2 separate regions of the Homo sapiens genome follow, and region 1 is linked to region 2. The links are contacts of gene promoters, found by promoter capture Hi-C in blood cells and fetal thymus (Javierre and others, 2016). All regions are on one chromosome and are shown on one strand. Each heading gives the region's core, a stretch centred on a gene start or on the middle of the fragment in contact. The rest is flanking DNA. Distances are from core to core; before and after follow the strand shown.

The links. Contacts are between HindIII fragments. The CHiCAGO score rates a contact against its expected background, and 5 or more counts as called.
Region 1: a contact is called between a fragment that was not itself captured here and the fragment with the promoter of NOTO in region 2, in 1 of 17 cell types (M2 macrophages). The highest score is 5.6, in M2 macrophages.

Annotation. Positions count from the first base shown.
Region 1 is chr2:72,765,279-72,772,572 of GRCh38, forward strand. The region is part of intron 1 of EXOC6B (exocyst complex component 6B); the gene reads right to left. Among named protein-coding and RNA genes, the nearest start is that of EXOC6B, 57 kb to the right of the region's middle. RefSeq lists enhancers at 6,606-7,107, 7,108-7,294. The HindIII fragment of the contact is 3,917 bases long and covers 3,329-7,245 here.
Region 2 is chr2:73,198,368-73,205,231 of GRCh38, forward strand. It overlaps NOTO (notochord homeobox), which reads left to right and starts at 4,207. Exons shown (of 3, transcript NM_001134462.2): 1 at 4,207-4,681. The coding sequence starts at 4,300. RefSeq lists an enhancer at 5,050-5,601. The HindIII fragment of the contact is 10,291 bases long and covers 1,620-6,864 here.

The DNA.
Region 1 (7,294 bases), core at 4,037-6,536, 430 kb before region 2:
CCTCTCTCAAAAAAAAATTTAAAATAAAAATAAATAAATGAATACCTCTCCAGGTCTTCTGCATACCTGTTTATGATATTCTTTCCTGAGGGACTAACAGAACTGCTCAGGCAGTCAGGCGTGGTGGCTCAGGCCTATAATCCCAGCACTTTGGGAGGCTGAGGTGGGTGGATCAGCTGAGGTCAGGAGTTCAAGACCAGCCTGGCTAACATGGTGAAACCCCCCTCTCTACTAAATTACAAAACTTAGCCAGCCATGATGACTGGTGCCTATAATCCCAGCTACTGGGGAGGCTGAGGCGGGAGAATCACTTGAACCCGGGAGGTGGAGGTTGCTGTGAGCCGAGATTGCGCCATTGCACTCCAGCATGGGTGACACAGCAAGACTCCATCTCAAAAAAACAAAAACAAAAACAAAAAACAGAACTGCTCCGGCAACCAGAATCTAAGGGAACAGAACACTGGAGAAGAGGGGAATAGTAAGAATGGGTCTGCCAATATGCTTCAGTCACTTTTTCCCCCTCAAGGTAAGTACCAAATCTCCATTCAAGAGGCTGAAGTTCCCGGGAAAGGGAACAAGCAGAAAGTCAAGACCAAAAGGCAGGAAAATCAGCTTTTGACAGTTTTAGAGAATCCCGGTACCTTAAATTAGAGGCATAAGAGGTTAGAATCCTGAAGAGGAAAGATGGGAAGAATACATAGCACTGTTATTATTTTCTCAACACATTTGCTGAATTCTTAAGCTATACAAAGAGAGAGGTTAAGATAAGCAAAAAGACTCAGAGAAGCCAACAGAATGTTAGGTAGTATTGAGGTATAAAGGAAAGAAAAGAATTAAGGATCTACCAAGGGAAGGGCTCCTAGTCATCACTCCAGGCTCTTTGGAATGTCTGGAGGACAATAGCATTAAGGCAGTAATGAGCCACACCCTAACTAAAGCTGAACCCTAGATTTAGCCAGCTCAGTCGTTGACTGGATTAAATATTGCCATACCATCTGCCTTACCAAAAGTGGGAGCAGAGGGGAGGGACCTTCACTTAAGGAAGAAAACACTATCCAAAACCTCCACAATTTTTTTAATGTCTATTCAGTCCAAAATTACCAAGTGTGCCAAGAGAAGATCACATGACTAAAAATCACATGACTAAAAATCAAGATTCACAGATGATCTAGATATTGAACTTATCAGATAAGAACTTTAAAAATGGCTATGATTAATACCACAAGAAAAAAGGAAAAGAACAAAACACATGAGAAGATGGAGAATTTCACTACAGCCTTACGATTTGTTTTTTTATTATAAAACTGGAGAAAACCCAGAACTGGGTTTTTAAAATTCCGAACTCCATAGATGGTTTACCAGCAAATAAGTCAATTGAAAAAATCCACATTGAGGTTGGGCACAGTGGCTCACACCTGTAATCCCAGCACTTTGGGAGGATGAGGCAAGTGGATCATTTGAGGTTAGGAGGTGGAGATCAGCCTGGCCAACATGGTGAAACTCCATCTCTATCAAAAATAGAAAAATCAGCCGGGCGTAGTGGTGCGCGTCTGTAATCCCAGCTACTCGGGAGGCTGAGGCACAAAAATCGCTTGAAACCGGGAGGCAGAGGTTGCAATGAGCCGAGATCACCACTGCCCTCCAGCTTGGGTGACAGAGTGAGACCCTGTCTCAAAAGAAAAAAAAAAAAAAAAGGAAAAAAAAAATCCACATTGAAGCCCAAAGAGAACAAGGAAAGGACAGGATGTAAAATACAGAAGAATGTAAGAAAAATGAAACATGGGACACCATCAAAAGCCCTCAGCCAGCAGTTCTCAAAATTTTTTGCCTGGCACTATTTTTATGCTCTCAAAAAATATTGGGTTTCCTGGCCGAGTGCGGGGGCTCACGCCTGTAATCCCTGCACTTTGGAAGGCCGAGGCGGGTGTATCACCTGAGGTTAGGAGTTCGAGACAAGACTAGGCAACATGGTGAAACCCCGTCTCTACTAAAAATACAAAAAATTAGCAGGGTGTAGTGCCGGGCGCCTGTAATCCTAGCAACTGGAGAGGCTGAGGCAGGAGAATCGCTTGAAACCGGGAGGCGGAGGTTGCAGTAAACCAAGATCGCGCCATTTCACTCCAACCTGGGCAAAAGAGCAAAACTCGGTCTCAAATATATATTATAATATATATTTCCCTTGGGTTTCCCAAGAACTTTTGTGTATGTGTTATGTTTGTTGACATTAGCCACATTAACAATTGGAACTGGGCCAGGCACAGTGGCTCACGCTTGCAATCCCAACACTTTGGGAGGCGAGGCCGGCGGATTGCTTGAGGCTAAGGAGTTTGAGACCAACCTGGGAAACACGGCAAAACCCCATCTCTACAAAAAATACCAAAAAAGTTAGCTAGGCATGGTGGCATGCACCTGTGGTCCCAGCTACTCAGGAGGCTGAGGTGGGAGTATCACCTAAGCCTGGGAGGTGGAGGTTGCAGTGAGCAGAGATTAGACCACTGCACTCCAGCCTGGGAGACACAGAGACCTTGTTAAAAAAAAAAAAAAAAAAAAAAAAAGACCAAGTCCGGTGGCTCACGCTTATAATTCCAGAACTTTGGGAGGCCGAGGCAGGCGGATCGCCTGAGGTCAGGAGTTCAAGACCAGCCTGGACAATAATGGCGAAACCCCGTCTCCACTAAAAATATAAAAATTAGAGGAGAGTAATGTCATGGGCCTGTAATCCCAGCTACTCGGAAGGCTGAGGCAGGAGAATCACATGAACCCGGGAGGCAGAGGTTACAGTGAGTTGAGATCATGCCACTGCACTCCAGATTCCAGCCTGGGGGCCAGAGTGAGACTCCGTTAAAAAAAAAAAAAAAAAGAAAGAAAGAAAGAAAGAAATTGAAACAGAAGAAAAAAATTACATAAAAGAACATACAAGTATAAATAACATTCACCACTGAAACAATGATATTTTCACATCATGCAGCCTCTAAGAAACTCAATTCTATTCCCCTAGGAGAATGCAAGCTTTTTTTTTTTTTTTTTTTCGAGACAGAGTTTGGCTCTTGTTGCCCAGGCTGGAGTGCAATGGTGCGATCTCGGCTCACTGCAACCTCCGCCTACCGGGTTCAAGCCATTCTCTTGCCGCAGCCTCCCGAGTAGCTGGGATTACAGGCATGCGCTACCACCCCCGGCTAATTTTGTATTTTCTTTCTCCCCGGCTAATTTTGTATTTTGTTTCTCCATGTTGGTCAGGCTGGTCTCAAACTCCAGACCTCAGGTGATCCCCCCGCCTTGGCCTCCCAAAGTGCTGGGATTAGAGGCGTGAGACACTGTGCCCGGCCTAAGCTTTTTTTTTTTTTTTTTAAGTAAATAACATCTAACTGATATTATGAAAATATTTTTAAATCTGTAACTCTCCTGAAAGAAATTTTATCATTGTATAATTGTGCAGAAGCAATACTTAAAGACATCATAGCCAAGTATATCTAAAAACTTATGAAAGATATCAGTCCATAGTTTCAAGCCCTATAAACCCAAAGCATGATGAATGTAAAGAAAACTATACTTGGCCAGCCGTGGTAGTTCACACCTGTAATCCCAGCACCTTAGGAGGCTGAGGCAAGAATATTGCTTGAAGCCAGGAGGTCAAGACCAGCCTGGGCAACAAAGCTAAACCCTGTCTCTACAAAAAAAAATTAGCCAGGCACAGTGGCATGTGCCTATAGTCCCAGCTACTTGGGATTAGACAAGTTCTGGAGATAGGTGGCAGTTTTGGCTACAGAAAAATGTGAATATACTTAATGCCACTGAACTGTACACTTAAAAATGGTTAAAATGGTAAAGTATATGTTATGTATATTTTACTGCAATTTTAAAATAAGGTGAAATACAGACATTATTCATACAAACAAAATAAATGAGTCCTTCACTAAAAGAAATGCTAAAGGGAGTTCTGCATACAAAAGGAAAAGTGACCTCAGAATGAAGCACAGAGATGGAGGAGGAAATGAAGAATCAAACAAAAGAGTAAACATACATGAATGGTGACTCTACGAAATAATAAGGATAATGTTGTGTGGGAACAAAATTACATGTAAAATTAAAATTCATGACAACAGTGTAAGATGTAGGAAAGGATAAATGAAAAAGTGTTACATATTCCTAGCAGTGTCAAGGAAGTGATAAAAATATTAATTTATATTATACTCTGAGTCAAGGATACATGCTGAAATTCTTTGAGTAATGTCTAATAACTAAAAAAGGAAGGGCCAGGCCCAGTGGCTCACACCTGTAATCCCAGCACTTTGGGAGGCCAAGGCGGGCAGATCACCTGAGGTCAGGAATTCGAGACCAGCCTGGCCAACATGGCAAAACTCTGTCTCTACTAAAAATACAAAAATTAGCCGGGTGTGGTGACACGTGCCTGTAATCCCAGCTACTCGAGAGGCTGAGACAGGAGAATTGCTTGAACTCAGGAGGTGGAGGTTGCAGTGAGCCGAGATCGTGCCACTGCACTCCAGCCTGGGCGACAGAGCAAGACTCCATCTCAAAAATAAAATAAAATAAAATAGAAAGAAGAAGAGTCAATAGACAGCCAAAAATAATAAGAATCAAGAATAAGCACTTAGGGAAAAAGAAAAACCAGCAAGTATCAGACTTCTCCACAGCAACATTGAACACCAGAAGACAAGATACTCAAGGAAACAAAACATGAGCCAAGAACTTTAATTTCAACCAAGCTAGCCTTTAAATATAAAGTCTATAGAGCTAAAATTTGAATATACAATAACTCAAAAATTGTTGTTCACATAAGTCCTTCTTAAGGCAACTACTAGAGGAGGAACACAAACCCAACTAGATGACAGGGAAAACTTCAATAAAAAAGAATGTCAATGAAGACTGAATATATTTAACTGCAACTCTAAGACAAAAACAAGGTCAGATTAAAAGTGATCAAGTATGATACATAAAAATAGTACATAAAAATTATACAACTAAGAAAAAAAAGAGAGAAGATAGAAAGTAGAATAAACTAGTCAACTATCTTATACCAGTAACTGTGAGCCAAAGCTAGGCAAATCAACTACAGGTCTACAATCCCTAATCGAAAATCCTTGTAGCAAAATGTTTCATAATACCAAATTCTGTACATTTAAAAAAAATACAGCTCATCTGTCACATATTATGTAACATCCCAGTAAGATCTTAAGCATTCCATAATCAAACACATTCATATTTCAGCAGTAAAATATAGGAATATTCACAAAAGTGGTAAATATAAAGATTATTAATATATTAAGTCAATTCACATCAGGTTTTCTTGCCAAATGAATTAAGGCAGATTTTGACAACAAATAGTTTTTAGAGCCTTTAGGATTTGGGGATTACAAATGAGAGATTATGGGCCAAATCAAGTATGCTTGACTACAAAGTAAAGCACTAAGATAATACTATTCCCTGATATTTAATGCTAAGAGGAAAGAATAACAGAAGAGTACACAAGTTAAGTTTCATTGTTGCCCTTGGGTGAGAAATCAGTAAATATTACCTTCAGAGAGAGACAGAGAGAACTGAGGATGCAATACAAAGGAACCACAAGAACAAAAATACAATTTTTTAAAAATTCAAAGAAAAAAAGGAAGCCATTAGATATGGCTTCATGGTAGTGTCTTCCCCCTCGCCCCCAGAAAAATTATTTGACTTGACACTAAGTTGTTTTTAAATAATGATTATAGTGCTCTTCATTTCCAACTTACTACACTTGGAAGAAACAATTGCTGATGAGCATAAAGTCACTAGGGGGCAGCAGAGCATAAAGAGTATCCTCTGAAAAGTGGTGACAACTACAAAGTTATTACATAACCAGAAGTGTCTTCAACTGCTGAAAACATTTCATACTCATCACAAGCACAATAAAACACTCGCCAATTAATTTGTAAAAATTGCTTCTAAGATATTCATTATATTCTTTATAATTGTTGTAATTTTTATTTTGAAATAATTTCACATTGCACAGAACTCTTGTATAGCCTTTATGCAGAGTTCACTAATTTTTGCCATATTTGTTTTATCATTCTCTCCCTACATATATATGCATGCTTATTTTTCTAAACCATTTGTAAGTAGGCTTCATATATCATGCCTGTAAAACTATAGTCTGTACCTCCTCTCTCTTACATAATGATAGTACCATTATGAAATTCAAGAAATTTACATTGATACAATTATATCTAACCCACAGTCCAAATTCCAATTTTGAAGATTATCCCAATAATGCTCTTTAGAGCATTTTCATTTCCTACTGGAAAGTATCCAGTCTAAGATCATGAATTACATTTTGTGGTCATGTCTCTTCAGTTTCTTTTTATCTAAACAAGCAGCCAAATTTATGGACAAAAGACTACTTTACATTATTAAAAATTACTGAGAGCCTGGATGTGGTAGCTCACATCTGTAATCTCAACATTTTGTGAGGCCAAGGTGGAAGGATCGCTTCAGGCCAGGAATTCAAGCCCAGCCTGGGCAACATGGTGAGACCATATCTCTAAAAAAGAAAGAAAAGAGGAAAAATAAAAATTACTGAGTACCCTAAAGAGCTTTTGCTTATATGAATTATATATATATTAGTATGTGCTATTTTAGATATTAAAACTGAGGAGCGATGTCAGCAAGATGGCAGAATAGGAGTTTCCAACACACATCCCTTCACAGAAACATCAGTTTGAACAAACATCCAAGTACAAAAATATATTCAAAAGAACTAAGGAATCCAGGTAAGAGATCACAGCACCTAGGTAGAATGCAGAAATAAGAAAATATACATTAAAGGGGGTATGAAAGACGGCTTCACATTATCCATGATTCCCTTCCCCCAAGCTCACAAGAGAGACCCTCGCTGGAGGAAAACGAGAATGATATGAGCACCCTACTTCACTGGGGACCCCAGCCCCAGGCCTCCCCAGTGAATTTTGGTGCCAGGCCAGCCGCCATGTACCTAAGCTCCAGGCCAAATCCAACACAAGGACAGCCAGTGACCTAAGGCTCCAGGCCTGCCCCTGCAGGACCAGGCTTAAGGCAAGCTCCAGTGCCAGGATGGCCCCCAAAGCCCCAGGCTTCAGGCCTGCCCAATAGAACCTGGTGCCAGGCAAGTCCCCACAGAAACAGGTTCTAGGCCCAGCCACATGGTACCAGGCACCAGGCTCACCTCCATGGAAAGAGACGCCAAGACTGCCCCATTGCCAGTTAGTCATTGTGGATCCAAGCTTCAGGCCTGCTCCTGCAGACCCCATTGCCAGCCCAACCCAGTAGA
Region 2 (6,864 bases), core at 2,957-5,456:
GGGCTTAGTAACATGGATTTCCATTCCCTAAAACCAATCTGACTACAGCCATTGCTGAGTGCCCAACCTGCCAACAGCAGAGACCAACACTGAGCCCCCAATATGAAAACCAACTAGCCACCTAGTGCCAGGGTAATCACATAGGGGCATTACTTTGTTCTTACTGGAATATCCATTTACTGTGACATAGATTTGCTTTCTCTGCCCACAATGCTTCTGCCAAAATCAACATCTCTGAACTTATAGAATGCTTTGGCATTCCATATAGCATTGCTTCTGACAAAAGAATTATTTCACAGCAAGTAAAGAACAGCAATGGGCTCAGGCTCATGGTATTCACTGGTCTTACCATTACCCTGAAGCAGCTGGCTTGAAAGAACAGTAGGATGACCTTTTGAAGACTTAATTATGGCACTAGCTGGATAGTAACATGTTGCAGGGCATGGGTAATGTCCTTCAGATGCAAGATGTGCTCTAAACCGGCAACCAACATATGGTGCTGGGAGAAATCCCAAACCAGGATTTGTGGGTCAGAGGGTAGAAATGAGAACAGATCTCCTCAATATAACACATAGTGTTTCTCTAGCAAAATTTTTGCTTCCTATCTCGGTAACTTTGTGCTCTGCTGATCTAGAGATACTAGAGTTCCCAAGAGTGAACTATTTCCACATGAGACACAGCAGTGGTTTCACTGAACTGGCAGTTAAGACTGTCGCTGGCTACTTGGGCTTCTCTCACCAGTGAATCAATAGGCACTGAAGAGTATTATCAGACTCTCTGGGTGACTGATCCTGACTGTCAGGGGGATAATGGGAACAACATGGTATTTCCATATCCTGTGATTAAAATCAATAGCAAAACTACAACTAAATAAAGGAAGGACTGATAATGGTCCAGACCAGGAACAAGTGGGCACTGAATTTTCACAAAGTATAAAGATCTGTGTAACCAGCATCCAGATGAAGAAATAGAACACTGGCCGGGCACGGTGGCTCACATCTGTAATCCCAGCACTTTGGGAGGCTGAGGCGGGTGGATCACCCAAGGTCAGGAGTTTGAGACCAGCCAGCCTGACCAACATGGTGAAACCCTGTCTCTATTAAAAATACAAAATTTGCTCGGCATGGTGGCACATGCCTGTAATCCCAGCTACTTGGGAGGCTGAGGCAGGAGAATCGTTTGAACTGGGAGGCAGAGGTTGCAATGAGCCAAGATCATGCTACTGCACTCCAGTCTGGGCAACAATAGTGAAATTCAATCTCAAAAAAAAAGAAAATAAATAGAACACTGCTACCACCACAGAAGTTCCCGTCATGCCCTTTGCCACTCATTAACCACCCCCAAGCATTCTCCTGACTTCTAGTAGCATAGATAAGTTTGCCTTGTTTTTTTATTTTTTTATTTTTTTGAGACAAGAGTCTCACTCTGTCACCCAGGCTGGAGTGCAGTGGCGCAACTTTATTCTACTGTTGGTAGACATTCTGGTAGTTTCTGATTTGGGGCTATTGCAAATAATGCTGCTGTGAACATTCTGAAACATGTCTCTTGTTAAACACATATGTATATTTGTGTTGGGTATACACTATACCTAGGATAGGAACTGCTGGATCAGAGGGTTAAGCTTAAGTAAATACTGCTTATCCATTTTTCGAAAGTGTTTCTACCAATTTATATGCCCACACTCAGTGGATAAGAGTTCCAGATGCTTCATATTATCATCAACCCTCGGTATTTTCTTTTTCTTTTTCTTTTTCTTTTTCTTTTTTTTTTTTTTTTTGAGACAGAGTTTTGCTCTTGTTGCCCAGGCTGGAGTGCAATGGCTCACTACAACCTCCGCCTCCCAGGCTCAAGCGATTCTCCTGACTCAGCCTCCCAGGTAGCTGGGATTATAGGTGTGCACCACCACACCTGGCTAATTTTGTATTTTTAGTAGAGATGGGGTTTCACGATGTTGGTCAGGCTGGTCTCGAACTCCTGACCTCAAGTGATCCACCCGCCTCAGCCTCACACCTGCCTTGGCCTCCTAAAGTGCTGGGATTTACAGGTGTGAGCCACCGTGCCCAGCCAGCCCTTGGTATTTTCCATCTTCTGGTGCGTGTATAGTGGATCACGATGTGATTTGAATTTGCATTTCCCTGATGACTCACAGAGTTCAGTATGTTTCATACTTTTTTTTTTTTTGAGACAGAGTCTCGCTCTTTCGCCCAGGCTGGAGTGCAGTGGTGCAGTCTTGGCTCACTGCAACCTCCGCCTCCCAGGTTCAAGCAATTCTCCTGCCTCAGCCTCCGAGTAGCTGAGATTACAGGCACCCACCACAACACCCAGCTAGTTTTTGTATTTTTAGTAGAGATGGGGTTTCACCATGTTAGCCAGGCTGGTCTCAAACTCCTGACCTCAAGTGATCTGCCCGCCTTGGCCTCCCAAAGTGCTGGGATTACAGGCATGGGCCACCGCGCCCAGCCACATATGGTTTTAAGCTATTCAGATATTTCCTTTTATAAAGTGCCTAGTTCATGTACTAACCCATCTCAGTGGTCTTTTTAAAGTCTGTTGTAGGGCTGGGTGCGGTGGCTTACGCCTGTAATCCCAGCACTTTGGGAGGCCAAGGCGGGTGGATCACCTGAGGTCAGGAGTTCAAGACCAGCCTGGACAACATGGTGAAACCCCATCTCTACTAAAAATACAAAAAATTAGCTGGGCATGGTGGCGGGTGCCTGTAATCCCAGCTACTCAGGAGGCTGGGGCAGGAGAATCGCTTGAACCCAGGAGGCAGAGGTTGCAGTGAGCCGAGTGCCATTGCACTCCAGCCTGGGCAACAAGAGTGAAACTCCATCTCTAAATAAATAAATAAATGAATAAAAATAAAGTCTGTTATTCGTTTGGCTTTATTTTTGGTATACTTAACAAAAATTAGCTGGGTGTGGTGGCACATGCCTGTAATCCCAGCTACTGAAGCAGGAAAATCGCTGGAACCTGGGAGGCAAAGGTTGCAGTGAGCCAAGATTGTGCCACTGCACTCTAGCCTGGGCAACTCCATCTCAGAAAAAAAAAAAAAAAGGACTACTAAAAGAATGAAAAGGCAGGCCACAGAGTGACAGAGGTTATCTGCTTCTATGTATATTACAACGAAGGACTTGATTCCAAATTATCTATACATAAAACTCTTACAATAAGAAAAACATAGTGACCCAATACAAAAATAAGCAAACCAGTTGAACAGGCACTTCACACAAAAGAGGATATCCAAGTGGCTGATAAGCATGTAAAAAGATGCTCACAATGAACGGTCTTCAGGGAAATAAATGCAAATTAAAACCACATACCTAGGGGATTTGAAACAAGGCAGTTCTGTTAACCTCTCTTGCTGTATTTACTAATATGTAAATTGGAGATATTAATGCTTATGCTCAGGAATTTACAGTCTGAAGAAGGAATAAATGACACAACAGAAAACTGATAATTATGTATGGAAACACAGAATTATATACTAAAAGTCCAAGGTTAGAGACATAGTGGCCATATCTTTTACCCCTAAATCAACTCAAATCAAATCAAATCAAATCCTGAGCTCAAGCGATCCTCCCGCCTCGGCCTCCCACACAAGTACTGGGATGCCAGGCATGAGCCACTGCACCTGGCCAAAAAAAATATTAAAGAAAGAACGAAATTGGTAATCACAGCGCATCTCAAGGCAGGGAAACTAAAGGGCTGAGGCCAGATGGAAAATGTACTTATCACTGTGCTTATAAATAAAATATTTACATTTTAAAACAAACAAACAAAAAGTCCGCGCGGTCCTAGGTGAATCTGGCCGAGGCTTCTGCGTCAAGGACGGCGCGGGTCAGCTGAGGCCAAGACCGCAGGCACTGCCCTACCGCTCTCCAGATCACAGCTCCGCCTCTGCAAGGCCCCGGGGAAACGGGCATCCCTTCTTCAGTGAGCAAAGGAGAAAGACGGAGCCCGGTGGCTGGGTGTTTCGCCCAGGATCACCAGCGAGCTCAGAGTCCTCCCCACGACCGCCCCAGGGTGGGCATTTTTAAAAGCGGAGGAAGGGAGGGAACACACTCTTTGGTGCTGTGCCCACCTTGCCTCGCACAGAGCGGGCGCTCACAGGCTTTGGGGGCCCCGCCCGGACCGCAGTGGGGAGAGGCCGCCCCATGCCCCGCCCCGCCAAATTTAAGAGCCTTCGCCGAGCGCCAGGAGGTTCCCAGACAACCGGTCTTGCTCGCTGCCTTTTGCAGAATCTTCTCACTTCTCCCGAGCTCCCTTCCTTGCGTCCGTCCGGGCAACGGCCGCGTCATGCCTAGCCCCAGGCCGCGAGGCAGCCCGCCACCCGCTCCCTCGGGCTCTCGGGTCCGACCTCCGCGCTCTGGCCGCTCTCCGGCGCCCAGGTCCCCTACTGGCCCGAACACGCCCCGCGCTCCCGGACGCTTCGAGTCCCCTTTCTCGGTCGAGGCCATCCTGGCGAGGCCCGACCCCTGCGCGCCGGCGGCCTCCCAGCCGTCGGGCTCCGCCTGCGTCCACCCGGCCTTCTGGACCGCTGCTTCCCTGTGCGCCACCGGGGGTCTGCCCTGGGCTTGCCCGACATCGTGGCTGCCCGCCTACCTGAGCGTAGGTTTTTACCCTGTGCCAGGGCCGCGCGTGGCTCCCGTCTGCGGCCTGCTGGGCTTCGGCGTCACAGGTACTGCGGTCCCGGCGCCCGCACGCGGGGGACTGGGCGGGGGCTGGAGAGCCTAGGTCGCCACTGCCGGCGCCCCAGTGCAGGAGAGGGCACTGAGTGTGAGAATCACACACGGCTGGAGTGGGAAGGGGCTCTGCCACCGTTTACCTTGCAGTTGAAGCCGAGGACCGCGACAGTCTTGCTGAAAAAGACCCCGGCGCGAGGCTTCCCCCGCACGCTGCTGAGGTGGGAGAGGGTGGGTGTGAGGGCGGCGCAGCGCCTGAATGCGGTGGGCAGGAGGCCAGCGCTGGGGCTGCAAGGGGACCCAGCCCTGCTCCCGGTCTCCGCGTCCCTTGACTCCCTCGCACACCCCGGGGTAGCGCTTAGTGACAGAGACGCTTCCCAAAGCGGCTCTCGACCCGAACCAATGGCCCTGTTTTTTTTTTTTACGGGGTAGGGGGAAGTGGACGCTCCGGGCGGTGCTGTTGAGCGAGGAGCTGTTAGGAGCTGGTCAAGGCTCACACCCCACTACCGCCTCCACTGCTCACGTCTGTGAACTTGAGCTACACACTTCGCTCTGAGCCTGCGTGCATGCAATGCTCTTAAGTAGTGCTTAAGGGCCAGGCACTTAAATCTCATGAGAAAGTAATTGTAAGGTTGGGCGCGGTGGCTCACGCCTGTAATTTCAGCACTTTGGAAGACCGAGGCGGGTGGATCACCTGAAGTCAGGAGTTCAAGGCCAGCCTGGCCAACATGGTGAAACCACATCTTTACTTAAAAGACAAAAAATTGGCCGGGCGCGGTGGCTCACGCCTGTAATCCCAGCACTTTGGGAGGCCGAGACGGGCGGATCACGAGGTCAGGAGATCGAGACCATCCTGGCTAACACGGTGAAACCCCGTCTCTACTAAAAATACAAAAATTAGCCGGGCATGGTGGCGCGTGCCTGTAGTCCCAGCTACACAGGAGGCTGAGGCAGGAGAATGGCGTGAACCCGGGAGGCGGAGCTTGCAGTGAGTCGAGATCGCGCCACTGCACTCCAGCCTGGGCGACAGAGCGAAACTCCGTCTCAAAAAAAAAAAAAAAAAAAAAGACAAAAAATTAGGAGGGCGTGGTGGCGCGCGCTTGTAATCCCAGCTACTCAGGAGGCTAAAGCAGGAGAATCACTTGAACCCGGGAGGTTGAGGTTGCATTAAGCCGAGATTGCGCCACTGCACTCTAGCCTGGGCAACAGAGTGAGACTCCGTCTCAAACAAACAAATCAACAAAAAAAAGTAACTATAGAGGGAACTTTGCCTTCTAGCATTAAACATCCACCTACACGTGCTTTTGCCATTTTTGGTTGCCAGGTTCATGTTTCCCCATGTCCCCACGAAGAAAACAGGAGCAAAGTTAGTCCAAGCCTTATCAACCCATACAAAGATAGTTGTAACACAGTCTTGCCGGGTTCCTACTCCGTGGCACCCACCCCAATCCTGCATTTCCTCACCCCATTTCAGCAGTGCATTAACCCTTGGACTCGCAGCCCCATCTAAATTCAATACCACTGGATCTGGGAGCTGTGCCCATCACTCCCAGTCACCTTTCTCTGAGCTCTTCACACACCTGAGGTCTGAATTACAGTTTACTACTTCATGTTACAGTTGCCTCATTTTCAAGTTAGTTGTTTTCTTTTGTTCTGTTTTGTTTTGTTTTGAGACGGAGTCTCACTCTGTCTCCCAGGCTGGAGTGCAGTGGCGCTATCTCTGCTCACTACAACCTCCTCCTTCCGGTCTCAAGTGATTCTCCTGCCTTAGCCTCTGGAGTGGCTGGAATTACAAGCCCCAGCACCATGCCCGGCTAATTTTTTTTATTTTTTTATTTTTTTTTTTTGAGGCGGAGTCTTGCTCTGTCCTTAGGCTGGAGTGCAGTGGTGCAATCTCGGCTCACTGCAAGCTCCGCCTCCCGGGTTCACGCCATTCTCCTGCCTCAGCCTCCCGAGTAGCTGGTACTGCAGGCACATGCCGCCACACCTGGCTAATTTTTTGTATTTTTAGTAGAGACGGGGTTTCACCATGTTAGCCAGGATGGTCTTGATCTCCTGACCTCGTGATGTATTTCTTTTTCTGTGAACTACTGTTCTTGTATTTTGCCCATATGTATAGTTGGTTATTTAAAACAATCTATTTGTAGATGCTCTTTTCTATTGAGGAAATTAGCCCTGG